Linked DNA regions of Homo sapiens: regions 2 and 3 are each linked to region 1. The links are contacts of gene promoters, found by promoter capture Hi-C in blood cells and fetal thymus (Javierre and others, 2016). All regions are on one chromosome and are shown on one strand. Each heading gives the region's core, a stretch centred on a gene start or on the middle of the fragment in contact. The rest is flanking DNA. Distances are from core to core; before and after follow the strand shown.

Region 1 (4,090 bases), core at 830-3,329:
ACCCATGCCAGCTCCCCTTCCCTGGATATTACCACCAGCATTGAGCCAGAAGGCTAGGTGTCCTCAGCACCTTTCTTCCCCTAAGCTCTAGTGCTAATCGGTCACCAAGCCCTGGCACTTCTGCCACCATTTCTCTCATCTACCTTCTCCCCACTCCATGCTCTTGGTCCTGCCTCATCCCTGGAGGGCTGCCTCGGCACCCTGCCTGCTCTCTCAGACTCCATCCTCTCCTGTATTGCAGCTGTGTTGAGATCTGTGGTGCTGGTCACAGAGCCTGGCTGCAGTGAGGGCTCAATTGCTCCATGCTGGAACTGGACCAGTCCTCAGAGACCATCTGATCTGCTCATTCTGTTGTTCAAATGGGGAAACAGAGGCCCAGTGAGGCCTAGCGGCTTGTTTAAGGTCACGCTATGGAAGAAGTGACTTGAACTCACTTCTGATTCTGAGGTGAAGGCTCTTCCCATCAGTGCCAGGGCCACACAAGTGTTTCTTGTTTTGAGTGCAGATGGGTGGCTTGGAAGTCAGCAGGAGGCACAGGTGTGGTGACTTGATGGGCTCAGGGCCCAAAGGGAGGGAGGGCCTGGGAGTGGAAGATGGAACCTCATTCAAGCCCGTCTCTCCTTTCTTCTCACCAGAAACTCCCCCTTTCTTTGGACAACTGGACCCCCACACCTCCACCCTGTCCCCATCCCTTTTGCTGATAATCCCATCTCCTTGCCCTGTAAATGCTAGGGGGCCCTTGATTTGGGGAGGAAGGGAAGGCTGAAGCCGGTCCCGGCACCCTGAGAGCCCCAGGGCCCTCCAATGCCCCACTCCTTCTCCAGGTCTGCCCTGGCTTGCTCTGTCTCCCTAGGGCAGCTGGCTTTTGTCCCAGGGGAGCATGGGAACAGCTTGGGTGAGAATGGGGGAGGGGCTTCCCAGCAGGTTTCACCTCTCCCACCTGGCATAATTTCTACCCTGCACCCAGTGATGCCCAGGAGCCAGCACAAGAACCTCTGAGCTCTCCTGCCGGCTTTCCCCACTGTGGGGCCCACAGGATGGCTGGGTGTGCTGGGGAAACTGAGGGAGATGACTTGTGGGTGCCAGCACCATGGGACTTTGGGTGATCTTGGACCTATTCCTTCCTCCTTCTAGGTGCTTCCTGAGCTGGCGAAAAGGAGAGCTGGATGCTGGGATTCTATAAATTCGGCGGTGGATGTGAGTCTAGCTACAGCATGGACCCTGGCCAGCCCTGGAATCTGAGTTCAGAGATCTTTGAAAAAATGCCTTCCGATAACTGAGCACCTACTACATGCTGGACACTGCACCAGGAGATTTGTGTGCATTCCCTCATTGAATCTTACAACCACCCTCTGGGATGGTTTTTGCTATTAAGCCGATTTTATAGATGAGAATACTGAGGGCTAGAAAAGATAAGTACCTTGTCCAAGGTGACACGGCCAGTAAGCTGTGGAGTCTGGATTTGAACTAGGCTCTCTTGGAGTTTGGAGCCCGGTCTTTTCATTTCTGGCAGAGACCTGTGGCTTCAGGGGGCGGAGCCCAGCCCATGGGGGAAGTAAGTCCTTCCTGTTAGATCTGTCTGAGGAGTAGTGAGTTTCTCATCTAGGAAACCATCAGCAGGCCAGGCTGGACTGCCCCATTTCTAGCCCCCTTTCTTCTCTGCAGACTGCCCTGTTTCTAGCCCCTTTTCTTCTCTACCCTTTTCTGTAGAGTGCGTTAGACCCATTTTACAGAAGGGGACTCTGAGACCCTTTCTTCTCTGCGGGGCAGGGTATGTGGTTCAGACGAGCCGCTTCCATCCCCAGTTCTGTCCCTAAGCCCTGGGTGACCTCAGCATTGAGCATCGTCTCTGAGCCTCAGTTTCCTGTCTATATCTAGTGCCACCAGGCATCAGAAACGTAAGTGCTTCAAGGATCTTGGGTGAAAAGCCGCTTTAGCGGCGAGCATACACTAATTAATAAAATGCCTTGGCCGGGGCTGGGCAGAGGAAGTAAGCGGGCAGCCGAGGTGACAGCTGGAGGGAGGAGCGGGGGTGGAGCCGGGGGAAGGGTGGGGAGGGGATGGGCTGGAGCTCCGGGCAGTGTGCGAGGCGCACGCACAGGAGCCTGCACTCTGCGTCCCGCACCCCAGCAGCCGCGCCATGAGCCGTGAGTGCGACCCCGGTGCCCGGTGGGGAATTTTCTTGGCCTCCTGGTGGAGCCTTGAATGCCAGGCTCAGCCCCTCATCTCTCTCCTCTGCAGGGAGTCTCTTGCTCTGGTTCTTGCTGTTCCTGCTCCTGCTCCCGCCGCTCCCCGTCCTGCTCGCGGACCCAGGGGCGCCCACGCCAGGTAGGCGGCCCCATCCCTCCCCAAGGGAATCCCCGGTCTTGCGCCCCTGGCCTGGTTTCAACCCCCTCCTTTCCCCTCCAGCGGGCCCAGCTTCCCCTTTCTGCTCGCGGTGCTGAGAAAGACTGAGGCTGAGTCTTTTGGTGGGATGGGGGCTCCCTGAAGCCCCCCCGGCGGTGTGGCCTTGGCTAATGGGCTATCTAGTTCTTTCAGGGGAAACAGCAGACTGGGATCTGGTGCCAACTTGGGGAGAAGGGACAGTCCCTATCCATCCCCCTCACCTGTTCTGGGCCCCAGATGTCTAAGCAGCCTCTGCACCCAACAACCCCGCTGTTTCCTATAGGGGCCTCTTTGGGAGGAAGCCGCAGGCACCAAGGGAAATGAGTTCCCTTTCTCCAGCCTCTAACCGTCTGGGAACCCATCCTGATTCCCATTGCCAGTGGAGAAGGTCTCCCCTGGTGAAGACTTCGGGAGAACATGGGAGATGGAAATACATTTAGGAGCCGGGATGCTTCATCTGGGGTTTAAGAGATCCCCATTGAGCAAATGAGGAAACCGAGGCTCAGTAGGTGCCATGATTCCCCAAGCTCACAAAATACATGGTGGGCCCAGGATCTGAACTCAGGTCTGTCTGCGTCCACACACTTCGCAAGGTCTTTCCACAGAAAGCTGCTTCTACCCACAATGGACCCGGAGCCACTCTGGGTTTCATGGGGGAGGTTGATGGGGAAATTCCGCCCTTCCCTCCCCCATGCATGTGCCAGGTTCCAGGTGAAGGAATTCAGCTCCTCGCTCAGCCAACCTTCCTCCCCCAGCTCGCTGCTTGTGTGTGTGCGTGTGTGTGAGCATGTGTCCCAGTTGGATATAGTTTCCTCCACCACCTAGCTGTGTAAAATCTCTAAAATGAGGCCCAGAGAGGGCAGGAGGGAGCAGAGGGAGTCCGCACTTTCTGCTGTGATGCTCTAAGGATCTGGTGCGTGGGGGAAAGAGGAAAGATATGTACATGGATTTTGGATCAGACCAAGTTTCCTGAAACGGGCTTTGGGTGGGTGGCATTTAGGGGACCCAAAGAGAGGACGGAGGGTGCTCTAGGAAAGGGATTGCGTTGAATAAAAGTCTGGTTTATGGGAAGAGGAGGAGGAAGACTCATGTGGCCAGCACTTTAAAGTTTACAAAGGTTGGTTGTGGACATCCACCTCTTTGGTGCTCTCAACAGCCCTGCCAGAGAGATGCGTTAGACCCAGTCTACAGAAGGGGACTCTGAGGCCCAGAGGGAGTGAAGCCACTTGTCTGAATCCTCACAGTGAGCTGGTGGTGGGGAGTAGAAGGGGCTCTTCAGGTTGCCTCGCTGACCCATCTTGTCAGTCCCTGGATCAGCCCAGCACTTCCTCTGAGGCCCCATCTGGCCTCATCCAGGCACTCTTGGTATACAGGTCCCACCCGTCTGTATTCTTTTTTAGTCCATTCACTAATGCACAATGAGCCATGGTCTGTGCTATTTTGTTTTTTGCCTTTTCTGTTTCCTTTTGTATAATAAATGTTTACACGGAATTGTTTTTTTTTATCCCCAAGGGTTATTTATGCCAGTCTTTGGCTGGGGCCTGGAGACACGGAGCTGGGAGGAGCTGACAGGCTGATGGTGGAGCCAGAAATGCCAACAGACTGTCATCCAAGGGGACCAGGGCTGTGCGGAGCTCATGGGAGGAAGCAGGGGTATAGGGAGCCCAGGGAAGGGAGCAGGGGTGTGCGGAGCTCAGGGGAGGGA
Region 2 (4,090 bases), core at 1,075-3,574, 240 kb before region 1:
GACATACCTCCCAGAGCTCTTCAAGCTGGTGATGACCTATGAAGTTGTCCACTCTGCCACTAAAGACCACCAATCTGCAAGTGGTCCCAGCCCAACTCGTACTCCTCCCATGATAAGGAGCTCCGCCCCCTCACCATCCCTGGACTGGTCCTTCTGTGAGCAAGTTCTGCTCACATGTTCTGCATTACATGCAGATTGGGGTAGGGAACTGGAACTCAAAAGACCCTCGACCCTAGGAACACAAATTCCTTTTCCTCCCTGAAATCCCATCCCTGGGAGTCCCAGTTCTCTGGGTCTGGGCCTGGGCACCCGCATCGTGGCTCAGCTGTGGTTCTAGGAAGCTAGCCAGAGCCTGACAGAGAGATTGCCAAGACAGCCGCCAGAGGGCAGTGCTGCCCCACACACGCCCAGGGGCCAGCCTGCCTTTGTGTCTCAGGCTGCGTGGGTCTTTCAAGGAGAGGCTGCGTGTCTATGTTTGTGTGTATGTGACTGTGGGAGTCTATTACTTTGTGTGTCTCTGGCGGCAGGGTTGGGGGTTGTCTAGGCCAGTTGGTATATGTGGTTGTCCATTTTTGCTCACGTCTGAATACCCCAATTTCCATCCCAGGAAGGGGTGCAGATGCCTGGTTACTCAGTGGGGCCCCAGGCAGGACGGGGAGGAGCACGGCCATCCTCTGAAGAGCCCTCGCCACCATCACCCCCACCATGAGCCTCCAGCCAGACTGGGCCTCAGGTACTTGTCAGTTAAGTCAATGACCCAGTGACAAGGACCAGTTAGTTGTCCTTGTCACTGTCTGGAACCAGGGCCAGTCCTGGTCTGTGGCGTCCAGGTGCTGCAAAGCCCCAGTCCCTCCCTCCCAGCCTCCTCTCCCCTCCTGCCCACCATCACCATACAACAAGGACAGGGAGACTATACCCCCATATCACAGTGGAGGTGTCCGTTTGATCAGCCTTGAGCTGGACACCAGAGCTTCCTGGTGACTCACCGGCAGCCCCCAGGCTGGTCAGGCCCGGGAGAAGGACGCCAGTGTACCCTGCCTGCTGCTGTACCTGCAGGACATGCCTGGACACCAGCGTGCTCTGGGAGGGAGCTGTCCTGTTGCCTGCGGTGGTGGGGACAGGGGAAGGCTGCTCTGAGCTGTACTTGGGATGCGTCTGGGAAGACAGGACGGGCGTGCCAGCAAGAGAACAGCATGTGCAGGGCAGGGAGGTGTGAGGGCGCAGCCTGGGCAGCCAAGGGGCCTGAGCCGCAGGATAAGTGGATCTGGTGGCATGCGGGAGGCGGCAGAGGCAGCGGGCAGGGAGGGGCCTCTCTCCCCAGCAGCTTGGTTGCGGGGACGAGCCAAGCCACCCCATGCTCACAGCCAAGGCAGGGGTCTTGAGACCCGCCTCATACCTCTGTGACCTCCAAGGAGCAGACGGTCCCCGTTACTGCCCCTGCTGTACCCAGGGACCCAGGAACGCAGGGAATGTGAAGCTGGAGGGGGAGGGACAGCGACTGACATTCTAGACCGGTGATGCACCCAGATAGAGGCCTAGAGCGAGGAGAGGAAGTGCGGGGCACAGAATAAGTAGAGAGAGAACAGAGGGAGAAAGAGACACCGGGAGGGGAAGGGAGACAGAGACGGGGAGTCGGAGGAGGGAGCGGAGAGAACCGAGGGAAGGGGTTGCCAGGAGGAGGGGTAGGGAGAACTTTCTTGGCCTCCCTGCTCGCGCCCTCCCGGGCAATCAGGCCGGCAGGAGGCAGGTGGTCCGGGGCAGACAATGGCGCGGAGGAGTGCGGAACCTGGGACTAAATTTGGCGTTGCCTTTGCAGGGCGCGGGGCGCCCGTTCATCTCGATGCAAAGGAGAGACGAAATGAATATGCAGCGCGGGCTGTAATTGGGCCGCCGCGGCCGCCGCCGCCGCCGCCGCACTATAATTTTCCAAACAGGATCTTGCAATCAGGGCCTTATTCATTAGCGCATAAACAATTTTGTTTCTCGGCACTCGAGCCTGTCAATCACGCGGAGAGGGAACATCTTGGCCGGAGGCGCGGGCCACCGTGCGCGCTCCCACGCGCGCCCCCTCGAGCGCCGCCAGGTGGCTTTGTGTCCGGGAGGCCCTTGGGTGCTGGGGTGGAGGGGGCCCGGGGCACGCTTCGGGGTCCACACCCCAGCCCGGCAGATGGGGGTGGGCGGCCTGAGAGAACACAGGTTTGGGGGCCCACCGCCCCGGCTTGCAATTCTGCTTCTGACCTCACCAGCTCTGCCCTTGGGCAACCCCCCTTCTCCTCCCCAGCCTCAGTTTGCCCTCTGTAAGATGTGCTCAGCGCACTCACCCCGCAGAACTAGAGGGGGCATCGGGTGGAATAATGGATGCTTTGGGTGCTGAGGCTGGGGGGTGGGGTGCTGAGGAGGGGGCCTTCTAGCTCCTTTTATTAAAGGAGGGGATCAGAGGCCCACAGAGAGCTTCTCATCCCATCACCACCCCCACCCCTCTAGGACGGCTCCTGCGACTCTGTCTAGGGAGGCCTCAGAGTGGTTCTCTAAGAGCTGGGCTGGGCACAGCCCTGGGCTCACCCACACGCTGGGGTGGGCACGCATGCGTGATCTCCCGTGCTGGCTCCCAGGAGGGCTGTGCACGCGGGGGCACCTATAACTCTACAAGCCCATGTGTGACTGTGCCACAGGCTTTGTGCCTATGTGTGTGTGTGGGGGCGGGGGCGCTGTGACTGTGTGTTCAGCTACTTGGCTGCTGGTGAGATCATGGAGCTGAGTGTGGCTGCCTAGCAGTAGCCAGGTGACAAGGACTGAAGGGGGCTGGTGAACAGAACTGTGGGGTCTTTGGGGCCCAGGTGACCTGGCAAGAACTGCAGAGAGGGCAGGAAGCCCTGAAGGGCTGTGTCTTTCAGGACAGATGACATCTCTGTCTTCTCCGCCTCCTCCCTGGCGACCCCTCCATCAGCCCCATGTCCCCAGCACAGTCATCCAGGGTGCCCAGGCTGGGGAGATAAGCAGCCTGGTTTTGCCCTACTGCCAGGCCTTGCAGTGGGGAGGGTTCACCTTCCCCACCTCTCTGACCCCACCCCCAGCCCCCTCAGTGCCTCCCTGACAGCACCAAGACTCAGCCCCATGCTCCCTCCATCAGGGAAGCCTAAAGGCCTCTGGAATTTCAGGGCCAAATGTTCTAATCAGCTCAGATTTACAGAGATCACAGCAGGTCAGAGCTGGATAGACCCATTGCATGGATGAAGAAACAGAGGCCTAGGACTGGAAACAGGAACGATACAGGCCTGGGACCCCCCCACCCCCAGCAAGTGGGGAGCAGAGCTAGGATCTGAACTCCTGTCTCTGGCCCCAAAGCAGGGGGCAAGGACCTGACTTCCCGAAGACACACACCGCCGACAAGCGTAAGCACCAGCAGACCACGGAGGCCTCCCGCAACCCGCCATGCCCCTCTCCTGCCCCCACCCCGGCATCCTCCTCCTCTGCTGTGCCCAACCCCTGCCCCCTCCACAGTCCCCACTCCACACAGAGACAAAGAATTTGAGGATGTGCTGGCAGCCAACTGACAGGCCATCAGTCTCTACCCAGACACCCTCTTCACAGTTCTAGCCCCAGCCCGGATGCCACCCCACCCGCTAGTCACCCCCAGCACCGGGCCAGGAAGGGAGGCGGCCCGGGAAGGGGCTGTGGGGGAAGGCACGGAGTCCGGAAGCCCAGAGGAACAGTCTTCAACCTGTGAATCCGGCCGCGCCTGGCCCTGCAGCCTCCCCGGCCCGGCAGCCTCCCTGCTCCTGCGTGTCCCAATGCATGATGCACAGCTGACCCCTGCCTGTGAGGGACCCAGGCCATCTGTGAGGCAGTTGCCATGAGTGACTCCTGGTGAACAGCCCATTGGCATCTCCAAGTGCTGGGCAGAGGCCAGAGGCAATGGCTTTGGACGAGGAGACCGAGGTTTAAAACCCAGCTCTGCCACTTTCTGGCTGGTTGACCTCAGGCAAGTCACCAGACTTCTCTGTGCCTCAGTTTCCTCATCTGGAAAGAAGAGCTATTTAACTCACTGGGCACCCAGTCGGTACTTGGTGCTTAGTAAACAATAGGATGA
Region 3 (4,090 bases), core at 658-3,157, 230 kb before region 1:
AACAGGGATCCCCAGCCACATGAGCGAGTGCCTAAAGCAAAGCAAGAGGAACAGGCAGGACCACAAGAAGAAAAAAGCAAGGGGAAGTCATCTTTAAAGGCCAAAAGGTCACATAAAACATAATAAAATACAACCGTTTCCTTTAAAAATTTTAATGGACAGGAAATGGTATAGAATAACTGCCAAGTCACATAAGTTAACTTTTTTGTTAATGTTTGTGATCCCGGAAAGAACACACTATCAGTCGATGCAAACCGCATGGGCGTTTTCATCAGTCGTTGTCTGAGCACATGACCGAGTGTGGGCCACGGACCCATCTTTACTTGGTCCAGAAATAAAAGCGGCTGCCATGTGTGGCAGGCTGCAGATCTCCCTCGATCTCAGGGCTGGGATCCGGTCTTGGTCTTGAGTGATAGGGATTCTCCGGTAAAGGTCGATCTGTTTTCACTTTGGTGACCTGGGAAGGGTGAAGAGGGCAAAAGCAAAGTTGAAAGCTAGGGTGGAGGAATCTGTAACCATCAATGCGCCTCCTGGTGTCTCCTCATTGCTCCCGCTGCTACAACTGCTCCCCGACTTAAATTCCCAGCAAATCACATTCAGACGTATTTAATCATTGAACAAACACTCAGGAAAGCCTACTTTATGTCATTCCATGTGGTAGAAACTAGGGATACAGAAGGGAACAAGATACTGTCCTCAAGGGGATCACAGTCTAGTGAGGGAGAAAGCCAGGAATAACAACCAAGATTTCCAAATCACCCTGATGGCTAATGGCAATGATGGAGACAGGAACTGCCTCTATAGGAGCAAGGACTGTGCACATCTAACCCATCCTGAAGGCTGGGGGTCTGGAATATTTTTAAGGAGGTAAGACTTAGCTTAAAGTCTGAGCAGGAGCCAGTCAGAAAGGCAAGGGAGGAAAAGACATTCCAAGGAAAGACTACATATGAAGATAGGCAGGCATGTCTTCAGAATGGCTGAATCAAAGGCTGCATGAAGAATGGAGGGAGATGAAGCATCTCACCAAGAACTTATTGCTAGAAATGATGCTGAGCACATGATTCCATTCCATTTTCACTCTTAGGAGGTCATTCTGCAGGGGCTCACTGAGGCCACCTAGCTAATAGTGGAAGAAATTGTACACAAAGCCAGATATGCCTACTCCAAAGCTTGTGCTTCTTAATACCACACTACAGTGGTGGACAGGCCAGATGATAAAGGGTATTAAATGATATGCAAAGGTGTTTGCGTTTTAACCTGACGGTTAACAGGTGCCACTGAAGCACGGCAGTAACTAAATCCCATCTCTGTAGGCTGGGAAGTGTGAAAGCTAAAGTGGAGAGAGGCAAGACCCAAATTGGGGAGCTGAGCCAATAAGCCAGGAGAGTGGTGAAGTACTAAACTGCAACAGGGAGAGAGATAATTTACACTCACAGTATCCCCTGATGGTCACAAAAATCTCAACTGGAAAGCCAGCAGAAACTGCTGTCATTTTAAAGATAAAGAAATAGGCCCAGAGAAGTAAGAAGACATAAGGCCACAGCTGTCAGCAGTCTTCTGATTATTCTTCTACTGGGCTGAACTCTTAAGTCACCTCATGTAAAATGACCAGATTCATCTTCCTAGATGTATAAATTCAGAAACCTTTTATTGGGAACAGAGCTTTTGTGTATACAATCACCCAATTATTATTATAACCACCTTATGAGGCATTATTATCTCTAGTGCACAGATGAAGACCAGGGAGGTTGGCATGCCTAAGATAAGATACACACTAATGTCAGAGCTAAAGCTGGAACCTAAGTCTTCAAGTCTACTAGTTTCGTTTGTTTGCTTTTGAAAGTTATCCCACCGCCCTGTCATAAGTACAGATGGTTCCTAATGATCCACTAGTGGTTCCTTGGTATTTGCAGCTCCTTTAAGGAATTAAAGACATTTATGAAATTGGCTGGGCACAGTGGCTCATGCCTGTAATCCCCGCACTCTGGGAGGCTGAGGCAGGTGGATCACTTGAGGTCAGAGTTCAAGACCAGCCCAGGCAACATGGTGAAACCCCTTCTCTACTAAAAATACAAAATTTAGCTGGCCATGGTGGCGGGTGCCTGTAATCCCAGCTACTCAAGAGGCTGAGGCAGAATTGCTTGAACCCGGAAGGCACTGGTTGCAGTGAGCAGAGATCGTGGCACTGTACTCCAGCCTGGGTGACAGAGTGAGACTCCACTTCAAAAAGAAAAACAAAAAAAATGTTGCCCAGGCTAGTCCTGAACTCGTGAGCTCAAGCGATCCTCCTGCCTCAGCCTCCCAAAGTGCTAGAATTGCAGGTGTGAGCCATGGCACCTGATCGAGAAATACACTTTTGAAAAGAGTTAAGAGAATTTTTTTTTTATCTCACAGAGTTTTAAAAAATGTTAATACAAAGATTCAAGAATAAATATGCTTTCTTACTAGCATGACTTGTTATTTCTTCTTTCATAAGTCAGAAATGAGAAAAGGTAGTTTTATTTGTTACATGTATAAGTTCTACCACTTTCCAATCTAGAATTATCAACTATTTAAAATAATATGTTCAGTACATCAAAAAGTATCTGAAAATAATCAAGCCAGATATAAAAGACAAAAAAATTGCTAAGTTATTACTCATGACACCAAGCTTATAATCCAACCATTCACAGATGCTATACACAAAGAGAAGGGAACTAGACCGGGTATGGTGACCTGTAATCCCATCACACTGGGAGGCTAAGGTGGGAGGACTGCTTGAGCTCAGGATCTCAAGACCAGACTGGGTAATATAGCAAAATCCTGTCTCTACTAAAATACAAAAATTAGTTGGGCATGGTGGCCTGTGCCTGTAGTCCCAGCTACTTGGGAGGCTGAGGTGGGAGAATCACCTGTGCCCAGGAAGTCAAGGCTGCAGTGAGCTGTGATCGCACCACTGCATTCCAGCCTAGGAGAGAGAGTAAGACCTGAGTTTTTTCCTCCATGCCTTGCTACCTGTGCTGCTCCACAGGGAACAGAGGGAGCTGAGGCTGAAGAAGCAGGGATGGGTCAGATCATAAAGGGCCTGCATGCCATGTTATGGAGAAGATGCTTTATCTCACCAGCAATGGAGAGTCCCCGTACAGTTTTTAAAAACACAGTGACATAAGATTTGTTTTCCACACAGATCACTCTTCTTGTGGAGGTGTAATTTAATCCTCAATTCTTCAATTTCATCTAAAGCCCACATTGATCCACCCTCCTCTCCCAGAAATTCATGTACCCCAGGTTAAGAACTCCTGTCCAAGAATAAGATAACAGCAGCAGGAACAATGAGAGGATTAAAAAAAAAATTCCAGAAGATGCTAATCTAAAGGAAGTGATGACTGCATGGAATCAGTAGGGAATGAAGAATTCAGGTTTCTAGCTCTGATGTTTCAACAGATGGTGGTGTCAAAACTAAGATAGGAAATATAGGAGAAAGAGAAACACTTTTAAAAGTACAAGAATGTAGTTTTAAAAAAAAAATCTTAGATATGTTCCTGAAAAATGTGGCATAAGCCTGATCCTATTTCCCCAGTGAATTCCACAATAACCTCCACAATGTTTTCAACTGACAGTGTTTCACTAATACTTTATCTTTCTCTACTCCCTTCTGTTCTTTAATTAGCTAATTAACTAAAAACAAACCTGCACATGCTAGAAGGCCTAAAGAAATTTTTTTTTTTTTTTTTTTTTTTGAGACGGAGTCTCGCTCTGTTGCCCAGGTTGGAGTGGAGGTAGTGGCACAATCTCCATTCACTGCAAGCTCCACCTCCCGGGTTCACACCATTCTCCTGCCTCAGCCTCCCAAGTAGCTGGGACTACAGGCGCCCACCACCACACCCGGCTAATTTTTTGTATTTTTAGTAGAGACGGGGTTTTACCATGTTAGCGAGGATGGTCTCGATCTCCTGACCTCATGATTTGCCCACCTCGGCCTCCCAAAGTGATGGGATTACAGGCGTGAGCCACCACGCCCAGCCAGAAATATTTCTATTTTTAAAAATTCCTTTCTGGATTGTGTATAATCACTGCCTAATTAATATGTTTGGTAAATCTGGTAAGTTCT

Evidence for each region. The method cuts DNA at HindIII sites, captures the fragments that hold promoters and counts their contacts. A CHiCAGO score of 5 or more calls a contact.
Region 2: a contact is called between a fragment that was not itself captured here and the fragment with the promoter of PTGS1 in region 1, in 15 of 17 cell types (megakaryocytes, erythroblasts, endothelial precursors and 12 more). The highest score is 10.5, in megakaryocytes.
Region 3: a fragment that was not itself captured here is called in contact with the fragment with the promoter of PTGS1 in region 1 in 4 of 17 cell types (megakaryocytes, erythroblasts, endothelial precursors and 1 more); the score reaches 7.7 in megakaryocytes.

The regions. Positions count from the first base shown.
Region 1 is chr9:122,368,945-122,373,034 of GRCh38, forward strand. It overlaps PTGS1 (prostaglandin-endoperoxide synthase 1), which reads left to right and starts at 2,080. Exons shown (of 11, transcript NM_000962.4): 1 at 2,080-2,147; 2 at 2,242-2,328. The coding sequence starts at 2,141. The HindIII fragment of the contact is 9,806 bases long and covers 1-4,090 here.
Region 2 is chr9:122,124,960-122,129,049 of GRCh38, forward strand. No RefSeq gene overlaps it. Among named protein-coding and RNA genes, the nearest start is that of MIR4478, 6.8 kb to the left of the region's middle. RefSeq lists enhancers at 184-950, 951-1,716, 1,717-2,483, 2,484-3,249. The HindIII fragment of the contact is 5,201 bases long and covers 1-4,090 here.
Region 3 is chr9:122,143,922-122,148,011 of GRCh38, forward strand. NDUFA8 (NADH:ubiquinone oxidoreductase subunit A8) reads right to left here. Exons shown (of 4, transcript NM_014222.3): 4 at 137-457. The coding sequence ends at 320. Among named protein-coding and RNA genes, the nearest start is that of NDUFA8, 14 kb to the right of the region's middle. The HindIII fragment of the contact is 1,481 bases long and covers 1,168-2,648 here.